Regions from separate parts of the Homo sapiens genome. Here region 1 is linked to region 2. Evidence: promoter capture Hi-C in human tissues and cell types (Jung and others, 2019). All regions are on one chromosome and are shown on one strand. The core of a region is centred on a gene start or on the middle of the fragment in contact, and the rest is flanking DNA. Distances in the headings are between cores, read along the strand shown. Region 1 overlaps SCRN1 (secernin 1). Region 2 holds the start of WIPF3 (WAS/WASL interacting protein family member 3).

Region 1 (6,540 bases), core at 1,742-4,241, 120 kb after region 2:
TCCTCACTGTTCACATCCATGTAACAGGGCTCGGTCCCCTCAAAATCTCATGATACAGCTTCTGGGAAGGAGTTATTAACCCTGTCACTTCCCAGATTGCTGATACTCACAATGTTTCCATTTGCAGATTCCTGCCAAGAATGATGAGGCAGGATTAGGCCCAACTGGTGCTCTCCCACTAGCTGCTGTATTTACATACACTTCTGTTCATCATCTCTGCCCGTTTCAGGAGTAGCTGAGAGCTTGAATAGGTGGCGGTAAGCTCCCACCACCACCCCATGCCCAGTGCAGCTACCCGCCTGAATGAAGGCAGCTCCTGGGACATGTGAGGTGTGAGGAGTGGGGGGAAGATCCAGGGAAGTCAGCTGCTTTGTATTTGGGTTTGTGGGATGTAATGGCCTTGGCAGGAATGGTGGGGCCTGAACTGGTATCCTGCAGAGAAATGCTTCTATATCCATCTATCACCTCCTTGCCCTCTGTCTTCCCAATGCTAAGCCCATCTGGTCTTCCTTGCATGCTTTTCTATGCTCTGGTGGTAAGTCAAATCCTTTAAGTGAACCCGACATTGGAAACAAATCAGTTTAATTAAAGTCTCTCTGCTGAGATAATGTAGTGACTGCTAGGATTCCAGATATTTAACTAGAATCTAAATAGTCAAGAGTTCTTCCTTTTCTTTCCCTCCTTGGCTGAGAGATTCACTACTCTGTGGGTGGAACTGTGCCATAGGGCCATTCAATTACTCCTAGACTAGCTGTTGGTAACTAGACTGGGAATCATTTCTACACAAGGAATCCTGTGATGGCTGTGCTGCTGTGTGGGGAGAGCTGCCTCCTGGGACATCCATGCAGTGATTCAGAAGGCCACCAGCATGGCTATGTCTGAATCTCGGAAGTGAATAGGTTCCAGCTAACAAATTATCAGCTCTCCTGTAAGTGGAAGCAGCTCTGCAGTCCACCACACATAAGCACAGCGCATGGAAAATGGGAAGACAGCTTCTTCAGGAGCCCAGGATGTAGGAAGGAGCCAGGACTGGAGAGGGGTCCCTTTCTTCCTTCCAATTGGTTCTGCCCCCCAGAAGACACCTGTAGAGACACTGTGCACTACAGGCATGCACTCACGGGAGGCCACGGAGGGTCCCCTTGACAACACACACAAGAGCCCTGTGTGTGTGCACAAATGCCTCTTGTTAACCTGAAAGAAACCGCTACTGAGGGAAAGACTAAGACTTCAAAAGAATTTGCTTTTCCCGCCAACTCGGCACTGTGAAGCCTGCCTTTCAAGGCTTGATGAACTCTAGTCCTCTTGTAAAAGGCTAATGTGTCCATTGCCACTGAAATACAATAATAGCAGCTTAAAATCCACAATTAGTCACACAACCGAACAACAGGCAACGGGATACATGTTACACTGCACAGGAAGGAGACCTACATTGCAGAAGGGGACGCTGTGAGATTCAAGGTGGAACACAAGGTAACAGTTTGATCTGGCTTCAGAAAAGGAGGCCACATATTAACTTTCTCATTTTACTCAAACAGGAGAGTGGTTTGTTTTGCTGGTAATTTAGTAAGGTGGGAAGTCTTAAATAAGAAGGGGAAAGGGAACGCTTACTTCACTTAAAGAACTTAATCTCCGTGTCAACACAGTCATAGAAAAGGTCCCCCACTTCCGCAGGGTCCAGTGGCTCGGAGCTGGTCAGGATTTCTTCCATGGCTTCCAGGCCTTGCTTCTCCAGCTCCAGCATGGTGCTCCTCAGCTTGCGACCTTGCTCCTGAGGAAGGACACGACTGCTTTAGGTGTCAGCAAAATAGCAGGGGACATTGCAGCGGACACTGAAACCCTCTAGGGGGCCAGCTGGCTTCCTGCTCAAGGTCCTGTCCTCCCCACACTCCGTTTCACACACGACTGCCGCAGGGATTGTTCTAGAATGCCAGTATGATTATGTCACTGCCCGGCTTAGAACACCTGCACAGCTTTCTGCTGCCTTCAGGACAAAGCCCAGACCCCAGAGTGACACTGAGGGAAGGCCCTTCTGACATCCAAGACCACTTCCCCTGCATCTCCCCACTCCTCAGCTGGACTGAATTCACTGTAGCCCTCCAGCCTCTGCTGCTGTCTCGCCCCTGCACAGGTGGCCCTGCCCTCTGGAGGGCCATCCCCTTTCTCAGCGCTTGGTCGACGTGCACCCATCTTCAGCTTCCTTGCAAAGCCTTTCCTCTTCCCCGCACAGTGCCACACCGTTCCCCCTGCCATGGGCGCTGTCTCCCACCTTGTGCTGGCTTGCCTCTGCAGCTGTGGCCCCTTGGATGGGAACTGGGCTCATTTCTATCCTCCAGTGACTGGGAGGGCACTCTCAAAAAATGTTCATTGAATGAAAAAAAAAATGGATCAATGAATAAACAGGTGCCATGTCTCTCCCCTGTTCACTCTTTTTCTGAGATGGTGAGTTCACTTCTTCCATGGGACTCACTCATTTATGGCAGATGACAGTGAAAGCTTTCATTTGCCCCATGAGTCCCAGAACTGAGAAGCTGCTCTCACCACCCGCCCACCACTGCTTCATGCAGCATCATGTGACTCCACCTGAGAGTCATTTGTAAATTTCAAAACCCACCAGCCTCAGCAGCCTCATCTTGAACACACAGCCCTTTCTACCTCTTCATTCTAATGAACCAAATACCCAAAACACCATACACCACACAGCGACAGTTTTCATCTACTTGGGGCTTATGGTCATCCACCAAGAACATAAGCACTATCAGGAACTAATGTGGACAGCCCTGGAGAAAACACAGTTGAATGCAGTGGCAGCATGCATGCTTCCGATTATCTGCCAGCCTTTTTAGGCTGGCAGGGAGGAGAGATGTAAAATAACTGTGCGACCTTTACGTGTCAAATGGTCACTTCTATGGAAGAGAAGGGCAAGCTCTCAGAAAAGTGAGACAGCCCTTCTCAGAGATGCTTTCTGAATTCATCTGGATTTATTGCTTGGATTTTTCTCTTGATATCCTTTTTCTATAGTCCACCATGTCAAATGCAAGAGGCTCACACAGTCCACAGCACCAATTTACACAAAAGGTCCCCCTTTTGGGCCCTTCAGGCCAGTTTGGACCTATTAAAAGTTGTTACATAAATAGTTGGGGAAAACTGATGAGTGTCTAACAAGCACGTTCCTTCTTCCTCTCTTCAGCAAAATATAGGCTTGAATTTATATAAAGTCCATCGGGGTGGCTGCTGTGGACACACTGGGTGCTGTGGAACGTGCTTTGGGTGGTTTTCTTGTTTGAATTGATGACTTATCACTTTATTAACCAAAGGTGTGGGACTGGGGAGAGCTGCACTTTGAAGGATTACGACTTCTTTTTTAAAACTAGGAATATGAGTCTGGGCGCGGTGGCTCCTGCTTGTAATCCCAGCACTTTGGGAGGCAGAAGCAGGTGGATTGCTTGAGCTCAGGAGTTCAAGACCAGCCTGGCCAACAGGGTGAAACCCCGTCTCTACTAAAAATACAAAAAAAAAAAAAAAAAACCCTAGGAATATGAGAATATTTTCTAAAACTATGTTTGTACTATGGTAAAACATATGTATTATAACATAAGATTGACCATTTAAAAACTTTAAAATGTATAGTTCAGTGCATTAAGCTCATTCACAATGTTGTGCAACCAGCACCACCAGCCAACTCCAGAACTTTTTTGAAACAACATATGATTGTATCTTTAATAAAATGTTGCCAGCAAATAACAACTTTTTACCCCCAAAAGTACATAAGGAATTTTACACAATATATAACAGTTATCCCTAACGTACTGCATATTCCTATTATTCCTACGTAAACAGTAAATGTAAGTAAGATACTCAGCCTGCTGAATTCCAAAATAACATGAGAAGCAGAAGCTTTGTCTTATTTGGTTTCAAGAGCCTGGGCAGGAAAATGGACACCAGCCTTCTAGGAAAGGCCCCAGGAACCTGGTCTCTGGGAGAAGCCCGGTCACACTGGATGGGTGGGGGTAGGGTCTAGCTTGACATCTGCTTCCCTGCCTCCTTCCTCGCTGACCTCGCCCGCCCGCCTCCGCCTCCGCCTCTGTGGCCCTCATGCAAGCTCACCTGGTCACTTTCGATGATGGCACGTGCCCACTCGTGGGCTTTGTACAGCTCATGCCGGCGGTCTGGTTTCTCCTGGAACCGAGGCTCCTTTTTGGCAGGGTCGTCATCCCCAAAACAGGGAGACTGTGTTTTGGGGACAAGTTTTACGTCATCAACAAAGATGAAAGGCTTGAATATGGACCTGGAGAGGAAGGAGAGGCACTTCAGCCAGGCAGAGGCTGGGACCCGGGAACACCCAGAGACTGTCCTTTTATTCAGCAAACATTTCCCAAGCCAACTTATGGTGGGTGGTGGGTGTGGGTGACGGGTGGGTGGGTGAGTGCCAAGAGAGACATAACTGCATGTTTTAGTCGCTATTTTAGCAAAACTGCAGCCATTTACAAGCTGCAAATTCCTCTACTTACAGCAAAGAGACATCAAAACAGACTTCCTTTGTTCTGAACCATTTGAGAGGACTCTTTTAGCAATAAAAAGTGAGGCAAACAAACAGTGTTCTGAGAAACGGTGCAAGGAGCCATCTAGCTGAGCGAGAGAGGTTTGCCTTTTTTTTTTTTAATACCGTGGTCTGAGAAGCAGCCTTTGGGAAAGGAAGGGCCTTTTGGTTTGGGTTTGTTTTTAGTTTTTTTCTGAGGTTCTACCTTACTGAAAAATCTATGGAATATCTCTGACAGACCCAAGGAGGGGACAGAGTAAGAAAGATGACAGAAGAGGCCTTGGAGGGTGCACACCACACAGAAGTCTGGTTGTGTGAGAGAGCTAGCACAGGGCACAGCAGGTAGCTAATGCCCCCCAGCTCTCTTCAATTCAGTTCTCTCGGCAGGATGGATGTTATCTTCGGGAAAATGGCTGTGCGTATGCCTGCATGTGTGTGTACTTGTACAAGTCTAGGATACATCACCCCCCCACCCACCCACCCACACACACACACACACACAAGAGCCACGCATATAAACAGCTGTGGCCTGGGATCCCAGGCCAACGGGCTAAGGGACCACTATGGCCAACTGTAACGCCGGGGAGAGAGCCTTATCCTACCCTCCCCACATCCAGAGGAAACACTGCTGGATCAGAGGGCTGCTCCTGGCAGGCATGGGCACCTCTGCGTCCCAAGGATTGCCTGTTTTCAGCTGTACCATGGGGCAGCACCTGCAATAACAGCAGGAGAGAAGGAACTCCCCATATGTGCCCCATATGTATAGGTCAGATTTGTCAGATTTGGACATTTTTTTCTCCTCTCAACAGGTGCACTGTGGCCCACCTCGGGTACCTCAAGTGGGCTAGAGGTGAGCTAGGATGTTGATTCCCTCAGCCCTGGGGCATCTGGAGCTTGAGGAAGCCAGGGCAGCCTTGCCAGTATGGCACACAGGTATGAATATTTTCAGGTATGGGCAAGGTATGGTGGCTCACACCTGTAATCCCAGCATTTTGGGAGGCTGGGGCAGGTGGATCACTTGAGGTCAGGAGTTCGAGCCCAGCCTGGCCAACATGGTAAAACCCCGTTTCTACTAAAAATAAAAAAAAATTAGCCGGATGTGGTGGAGTGCTCCTGTAATCCCAGCTACTCAGGAGGTTGAGGTGGAAGAGTCGCTGGAACCCAGGAGGCAGAGGTTGCAGTGAGCCAAGATCATGCCATCGCACTCCGGCCTGGGTGACTGAGCGAGACTTTGTCTCAAAAACAAACAAACAGACAAAGAAAAACTATTTTCAGGTATGCCATGACCTGAAAAGGACTGGGAGCCAATAACCCTTGCCAGCCAATTTTGTCCTCGGACTTGCAGCAACAGTATCGGCTGCAGAACCTCAGGCCCCACCCTGTCCTGCTGAATCAGAATCTGCAATTTTAACAAGATCCCTGCGGATTCATAACATATCCCAGTCTGAAGAGCACTACTAAAGACACAACAGTAATGAGAAGTACTCTCTTAGGTTAGCTTCCTGATGTTGCCATGGGACAGGAGTCTCAAGTGAGAAAAGAAAGACACTGATCACAATATGCAAAATTGGGGCCCAGACTAATTTAATTTGAGTATTAAAAGCAGTGAGACCTTCGTACCCCAAGCTGGTGAACTGAGTGGTACTAGTTGAGGACTAGTGTCAGGTACTCTGCTGTTCTCTATAGATGACGCAAATATAATTGGAGACTGGGCCCATCTCCGATCCACTGGGAAGCATAAGGCATGCCAGGCTGCGCCCACCTGCTCAAAGTCAAGCCCTGCCAAGAACCTACCCTCCCTAGCCATCATCAAAAGAAGACCCCCTAAAGACATAGGGGAGCTACCCTTGCACAGAAGGAACACACACTTCCACTTCCTACAGCCCCTTGAAAATAGATGATTGCTATACCCCTCTACTGAGTGTTGAATGAATGGCTGTTGAATATGAAAAAGGAATTATTGCAAAACCTAAAACTGTTTAAACCAATTTTTACTATATGAA
Region 2 (6,421 bases), core at 2,370-4,869:
AGTGTGGTTCCAGACCTGTAGCATTTGAGGCTCCTAAACCACCAAGCTCTTTCAGACTTTCTTTTCCCTGAAATGCCCTCCCTTCCCCACTTTCTGACAGGAGAAACTCCATTCATTAATGGATGCCCAACTCAGGTCTTGCAGGCTCCCTCCTTTTCTACAGATAGTTCATCATTTCTTCTCCTGTATCAGCTCTCTCTACAGCACAAGCTCCTCTCCTACCCAAAATTGCAATATTCTCTTCACAAGCTGTGTTCTCTACTAAGCTGTTGGCTTCCTGGGGGGCAGGGCTGTGAATTCATCTTTGCACCCCTAGCACCAGTGCAGTATCACCAGAAAATAGCTGATCTGTACATATTTGAGAGATTGAAGTGAGCACATGTGTACAAAACACTTAATATTTCTGGAGTGCCTTTCTCCTGAAGAGCTCAAGAAGTTACAGAACAGATATAAATATATGTTTGCAAGTGGAAGGTGTGAAAGGTGAGCTATTGCAGACACTTGGTGAGTGAAGAGAAGAAAAGAGGAGGTTTTTGCTCTTTACCAGGTCATAGTATAAGTTAGGAATACATTTGGCTGCAAAATTAGAAAACGAATTCTCAGAGGCTGAAACAAACATGGGTTATTTTTCTCACATAGGATATAGTCCATCCAGAGGTGGACAGTTGCACACTTTGGCTCAAGTGCGCAGTGATACCACACTGACTCTATTTCCCAGTGTGTTGTCCCAATTATATTGACCTTTTGGCCTCACAGTCTTTGGCTCTTGATTGCAATCTGGTTGTAGCATTACTAGGCATTTCATTTGCATTCAAATCATAAAGAAAGTGGGAAATGGGCTGGGCGCGGTGGCTCACGCCTATAATCCCAACACTTTGGGAAGCCAAGGTGGGCAGATCACCTGAGGTCAGGAGTTCGAGACCAGCCTGGCCAACATGGTGAAACCCCGCCTCTACTAAAAATACAAAAATTACCTGGGCATGGTGGCAAGCGCCTGTAATCCCAGCTACTCAGGAGGCTGAGGCAGGAGAATCTCTTGAACCCCGTAGGCGGAGGTTGCAGCGGGCCAAGATGGTGCCATTGTACTCCAGCCTGGGCAGCAAGAGCAAAACTCTGTCTAAAAAAAAAAAAAGAAAAAAGAAAAGAGGGAAAAGGAAAGACAGAACCAGAAAAAATTTTTCAGAGGCTCCCCCACCAGACCCTTCTTTCAACTCATTGGCTAGAACTGGGTCAATGACTTCCTTAGCTGTAAGAAAGACTGGGAAATCAGGAAGGGGATTGTCATGGTCGTCTTGGATCAATCATAATCCTGGGTTCTGTCACTAAGGAAGAAGTGGAGAATAGACTGATAATTGGGAAGACAATTCACAGTGTCTGCCACTGAACAAGTACCATCTACTAGGAAGAGCTAGTGCCTTCTTGAAGTCAATTTGTCTTAGTGGAGCTAGGTGGAAATGAATCCCTCCCTAATGTCCGTAGGAACAAGATGCTAATGGTATTGTTACTTCACATGGATAGAAAACACTGATCACCTGAATGGAATGCCTCTTGAAGCTTTCAGCCCCAAATGTCCAAATTGATTCCTCACTCACCACCTCCCCATCCCTACAACCAGGCATTTTAAAAAACAAATTCTTTGATCCAATCCAGCATCTCTTGAGATAAATAACAGGCTTTCCATCCAACTGGCTCATGCTTGGGCTGCTCAGGAGATCTGATGGGAACTCTCTAGGCCCATGGCAATGTCTTCTCTAATAGTTTGACTTTTCTTCCTTTTTGAATTAGAATACTAGTGGTTATGTATTTAGTGAGCTTTAGCACTGGAGGTCCAGAGAAGGAGAGTGGCTGGGTCATGTTTTGGGGTTTTGGGTTTTGTTTTTGTTTTAGTAACAATCACCCATGTAAGAGGGCTTATGAATTTTATGTTGGAGAACTGTTCTTCAGGTTCCATACCTGTGGTCATCTATTATGATTCTAAAGGAGGAAAGGGCAAGAGGAACTCAGGACAAACAGGTGGAAAGCAAGTGCCTCATCAGCTTCCACTCACTACACATAGACCTTTCGTCACCTAAATCAAAAGAGAAAACCATGTTCTTGACGACACTGGAGTGAAAGACATCAAAAGTGTATTATTAATCCTTGCTTTCGACACATTGCCCAGCTACAAACATGAGTAATTAAGAGATCAGCTAAGGGCTGCTTGGGGAACATACTTTGACAGCAGCCACTACAGAACTTGAACCTGAATACAGGCTGCAATCCACGTGTGAGATCTTCCCTGCTGGCATTGGCTGCTCCCTCACCTGGGTCCCCAACATTTCACACAAGCCTCAGCACAGCGCTGAGCGCCAGGTTTCTCCTCTATTCCAGACCAGCAGCAACTTTAGAGTTAGACACCTTGCCCTGAGGCCCTGCAGAGTGTCTGGCTCATGGCAGATACTCAAACACCGAGGCTGAGTGAACAGTCCACGAGTACCCGCTTAGCTCCTCCACTAGCAGGAATGCCCAGGACATGGGCAATACAGAATCCTCACCCAATGATCTCAGCACCTACAGCAATGCATTCAGCCTCGGACACAAACTTTCTGCATCCTCCAAGGGCCTGAACAAGAAATGTGACAGAAGCAAGGTTTTCCGTTCTTCAAGCTTATTTCAGGTTTGTTTTTGTTTGTTTCTTTGTTTGGTTTGGTTTGGTTTTTTGAGACAGGGTCTCACTCTATCGCCCAGGCTGGAGTGCAGTGGTTCATTGCAACTTTTGCCTCCTGGGTTCAAGAGATCCTTCCACCTCAGCCTCCCGAGTAGCTAGGACTAGAGAGCGCCACCACACCCGGCTAACTTTTGTATTTTTTGGTAGAGACAGGGCTTCACCATGTTGGCCAGGCTAGTAACTCCTGACCTCAAGTGATCCGTCCACCTCGGCCTCCCAAAGTCCTTGGATTCCAGGCTTGAGCCACCGCGCCCGGCCCTATTTCAGTTTTCAGTCTGCTTTCTCCTCCCTTCGACTCTACCTGGGACATCAATCTACCTCCCCAGGCTACCCGGATAATTCTCTCATCACCTGGCTAATTCACACTCAGTCTTCAGTTTTTCTCGTCGACGTCAGCTCCTCAAGAAGCCCTCCCTGACCTACTCCCCACCCCAAGTTTAGATCAGGTGCTCCCTCTGGGAGCCGGCTCAGGAGGCCTCTGCCTCCTCTTGGTTGTGCTGTAATCGCCCATTGGTCGCTTTCCTTTTCTAGACTGTGAACTCCACGAGGGCAAGAGGTAATCTTGTTCTCTCGTCCCCATCGCTTATGACACCGCCTGGAGCTTAGTAAGGGCTCAACATTTTGGAATAAATTCAAGGAGTGGCGTGTCCCCAGAGTAGCTGTGCTGGGCCGTGTGCCGCCCGCGCAACAGCTCCTATTTGGGGAATTCCAGCCTTAGGCCTCAGTCTCTCCGCAGCTGAGACTTGGGACTCTGTACCCGGGAGGCGCGCCCGCCGACTTGGGACCCGCCTCCAGGGTCCCAGAGCGACCCCGCCCGCCGGGGCCGTGTCCCTGCCGCGGGGCGGCGGCGGCTCCCAGGCAGGAGCCTGCGAGCAGGTGGGGGCGGCGGCCCCGCCTCCGCGTCCCGGCAGCACCAGAGCCGGTGGCCGGGGAGCGAGCCGGGCGCACCGAGCGCAGCTCGGCGGTAGCGGCGCCGCTTGGAGCACGGGCGCTGCGGGACGGAGCCCGGAGCCGGAGGCGGCGGCGGCGGAGACGTCGGCCGGAGCTCGAGTCCAGTCCAGCCCCCGGCTCCGCCACCTGCAGGTAGCGGCTTCCCGCGCGGGTGCGGGTCGGTGCCCGAGGGTGGAAGGAACGGGCGGTGTGGCGGCCGCCGCCCTGGTCGGTCCCGGAGCAGAGTGGCCCGGCCCGGGACAGAGATCCTGAGGGCGTGGGAGGGCCGGGGAACCCCCGCCGGGCTGCAGCCCCGGGCCCAGGAGGTTGTCGACGTGCCGCGCGGCGCTCACGCCCCCCACCCGCACCCTGCCACGCCGCCCCGGCCGGGCCGGGCCGGGCCGGGCGGAAACAAACCGCGGGGTGGGGAGCGAGGTCACCACGGGGTTGCTTGGTGACTTCTCCGGACTGGACTCCCCGGTGAGCAGCCCCTGGCACCGAGGCCGCCTCGGCCTGGTCCTTCGCGACGCTCTCTCTTCTCCGCTTCGCCCCCGGAACAAAAGGCTGGGGTCTCGCTGGGGAGGGGGCTGTCGCGGGAAGGGCTGGGGCGGAGTAAAAGAGAGCTAGGAAATTGCAGAGCCGGAGGTGGCTTGGGGAATACAGAAGGAGCCCCCTAGTGAGGAAGCCAACTCCAGAGATGTGAAGTGACTTGTCCAAGGTCACACAGCTCATGGGGACAGAGCGCAGGTCTCTGGACACCCCTCCCGTGCTCATCTCCAAGCCCCTGGGGTCAGTAGTCAGACTGTGCTCCAGCAATGTACATTTGGCCACAAATGGGTTTAGGGTCCTTTGGAGGATTAGGTGGTGGGTAGGTAGGTGGCAGAGCAGATTTCCCCCAGCCCCTGACACGCACTCTCTGAAGGTGGCGGGGAGGGCGGGCACCCGGCCGCCCTGGACCTGGAGGAGCGCCGCCCGGGCCCCGTGGGCAGGCAGGCACCGGCTCTCAGGAACAGCGCCTTTGGAGGGTGGCGTGCCAGCCGCGTGGGTGTGCCCGTGGCGGGCGCCGGGGCGGCGTGGGGACCGTGTGTGCGCCTCCCTCTGGAAAGAAGTTTCTGCAGGGAAAGGCCAGGAGAGCGGTTCCATGCGCCCTGGGACAGTGTGGCCAATCCCTGACACTCAGGGCGCTTTGTAACTGGCTGTATTGGGGAGGAAAGTTACTCTGTAGCAGGAAGTTAGGCTGTCTCTTCGCCTCTGTGCCTGGGGTCCTTGGCTGTAAATGAGGGCCTTGTTTGGCATGACCAGTGTGATTTAGAAGGTTTGTGCCCCTCCGCCTCCTCCTTTCCAGAATCTTTTCTCACTTCACAGGGAGGACTGGGAGTGCACTTCTTGTGCCCAGCATTAATAGTTATCACTGGGACTCCTGCCTCCCTTCAATTTTTTTTAACTTTATCATTACGAAAGAGGTCAGAGGAGAGGTTGTTTTTGGGCCTTGCAAGGAGATAAACTCCAGGTCAATACCTGGACAGGACATGAGGGAGGCTTCTGGGATGCTAGAAATGCTTCTCACCTTGACCTAAGAATTACTGAAGTTATACCCTTGAGACTTGTGCACTTAACGTAAATTCTACCTCAGTGAAAAAGTAAATAAAAATGTGATGCTAAAGTCCACTCATTGTGGTAACACACAGATTGCTGCAGTTTTCCAGCTAATGCATTTCAAAGATACATTTAAAAACCACAAAAACCAAATCAGAAAAGAAGTGGCGAGGAGGGGCAAAAGAAAGTTAAGAAGTAACTGGAAATGAAACATACACTGCAGATGCCTTTATGTGCATCACCTCCTGTGATTCGCAGCAATTCTTTAACAGAGATATTGTTATTGTGCCTTTTTTACAGATGAGAAAATAAAAGGTCACAGAGGTTAAATTACTTACTCAGGGTAACAGCCTGGGCACACAGACTTCAAATTCTAGACAGGCAACCTTCAACAGGCAATTTGTGGCCACCTGAATCGGGGCAGAGCGGTCAGGGTGACAGACACTTGTAGGCTGGCTTCCTGCCATTGCCCCCTTTTTGTTCCTTTAGGAGTCTCTGTTTTCACGTAATTGTGAGTGTGACATTGTGTCACAGATTGCAGTTACCCAGCAGCAGAAGGAATGGAGGAAGTGTGTGTGTGTGTGTGTGTGTGTGTGTGTGTGTCTAAGAACATACAGTTATAAGAACAGGGGAAAGCCAGCTGGTCTAGCCTGGCAACGCTCTTTTTAGGAGACTTATTGTTCAGAAACCATATAGTACAGGTTGCGAGTTTGCAGTCACTCCAACACATACACAAAGAATAAAGAATATAACCTAGGAAAGATCCGAGAAAACAAAATGTGATTAACAGTAGAGGGAAACATAGAATTTTCACCAGGATGGCAGTCAACTTTTTTACATTCTAGAATTTATAAATATGTTTATTAATGTTGAAGTTTTTAAAAAAGAAACCTACACAAATAACTCAGCAAAAGGAAGGAAATGTGTTTTCTAGCAAATGTGTTATAAATATTTAATATATATGAACTTTGGTGCAGAAATATTTGAAACATTAGGGTACAGTAGCCTTAAATCTACGGAGAAATCCTGAGAACTTTGTCCTGATGTGTGGTCTTCTAGTGATTTTATTTTTCTGCCTAATATTCCGAACTTAAAGAGGTAGAAACGTCTTTGTTTTACCACCAGTTTCAAGTTGCAGAGTTGAATGTTTGTCTTAGGAAGTTTTGGTGTAAAGAACGTGGGTTAAGG

What was found. The method cuts DNA at HindIII sites, captures the fragments that hold promoters and counts their contacts. A contact is called where the count stands out against the background at its distance.
Region 1: a fragment that was not itself captured here is called in contact with the fragment with the promoter of WIPF3 in region 2 in 2 of the 25 tissues and cell types used here (adrenal gland and liver).

Annotation. Positions count from the first base shown.
Region 1 is chr7:29,922,348-29,928,887 of GRCh38, forward strand. SCRN1 (secernin 1) reads right to left here. Exons shown (of 8, transcript NM_014766.5): 7 at 4,105-4,285; 8 at 1-1,768. The coding sequence ends at 1,610. Among named protein-coding and RNA genes, the nearest start is that of FKBP14-AS1, 63 kb to the right of the region's middle. The HindIII fragment of the contact is 5,344 bases long and covers 320-5,663 here.
Region 2 is chr7:29,802,889-29,809,309 of GRCh38, forward strand. WIPF3 (WAS/WASL interacting protein family member 3) reads left to right here and starts at 3,620. Exons shown (of 9, transcript NM_001080529.3): 1 at 3,620-3,790. RefSeq lists an enhancer at 3,356-4,265. The HindIII fragment of the contact is 12,406 bases long and covers 2,101-6,421 here.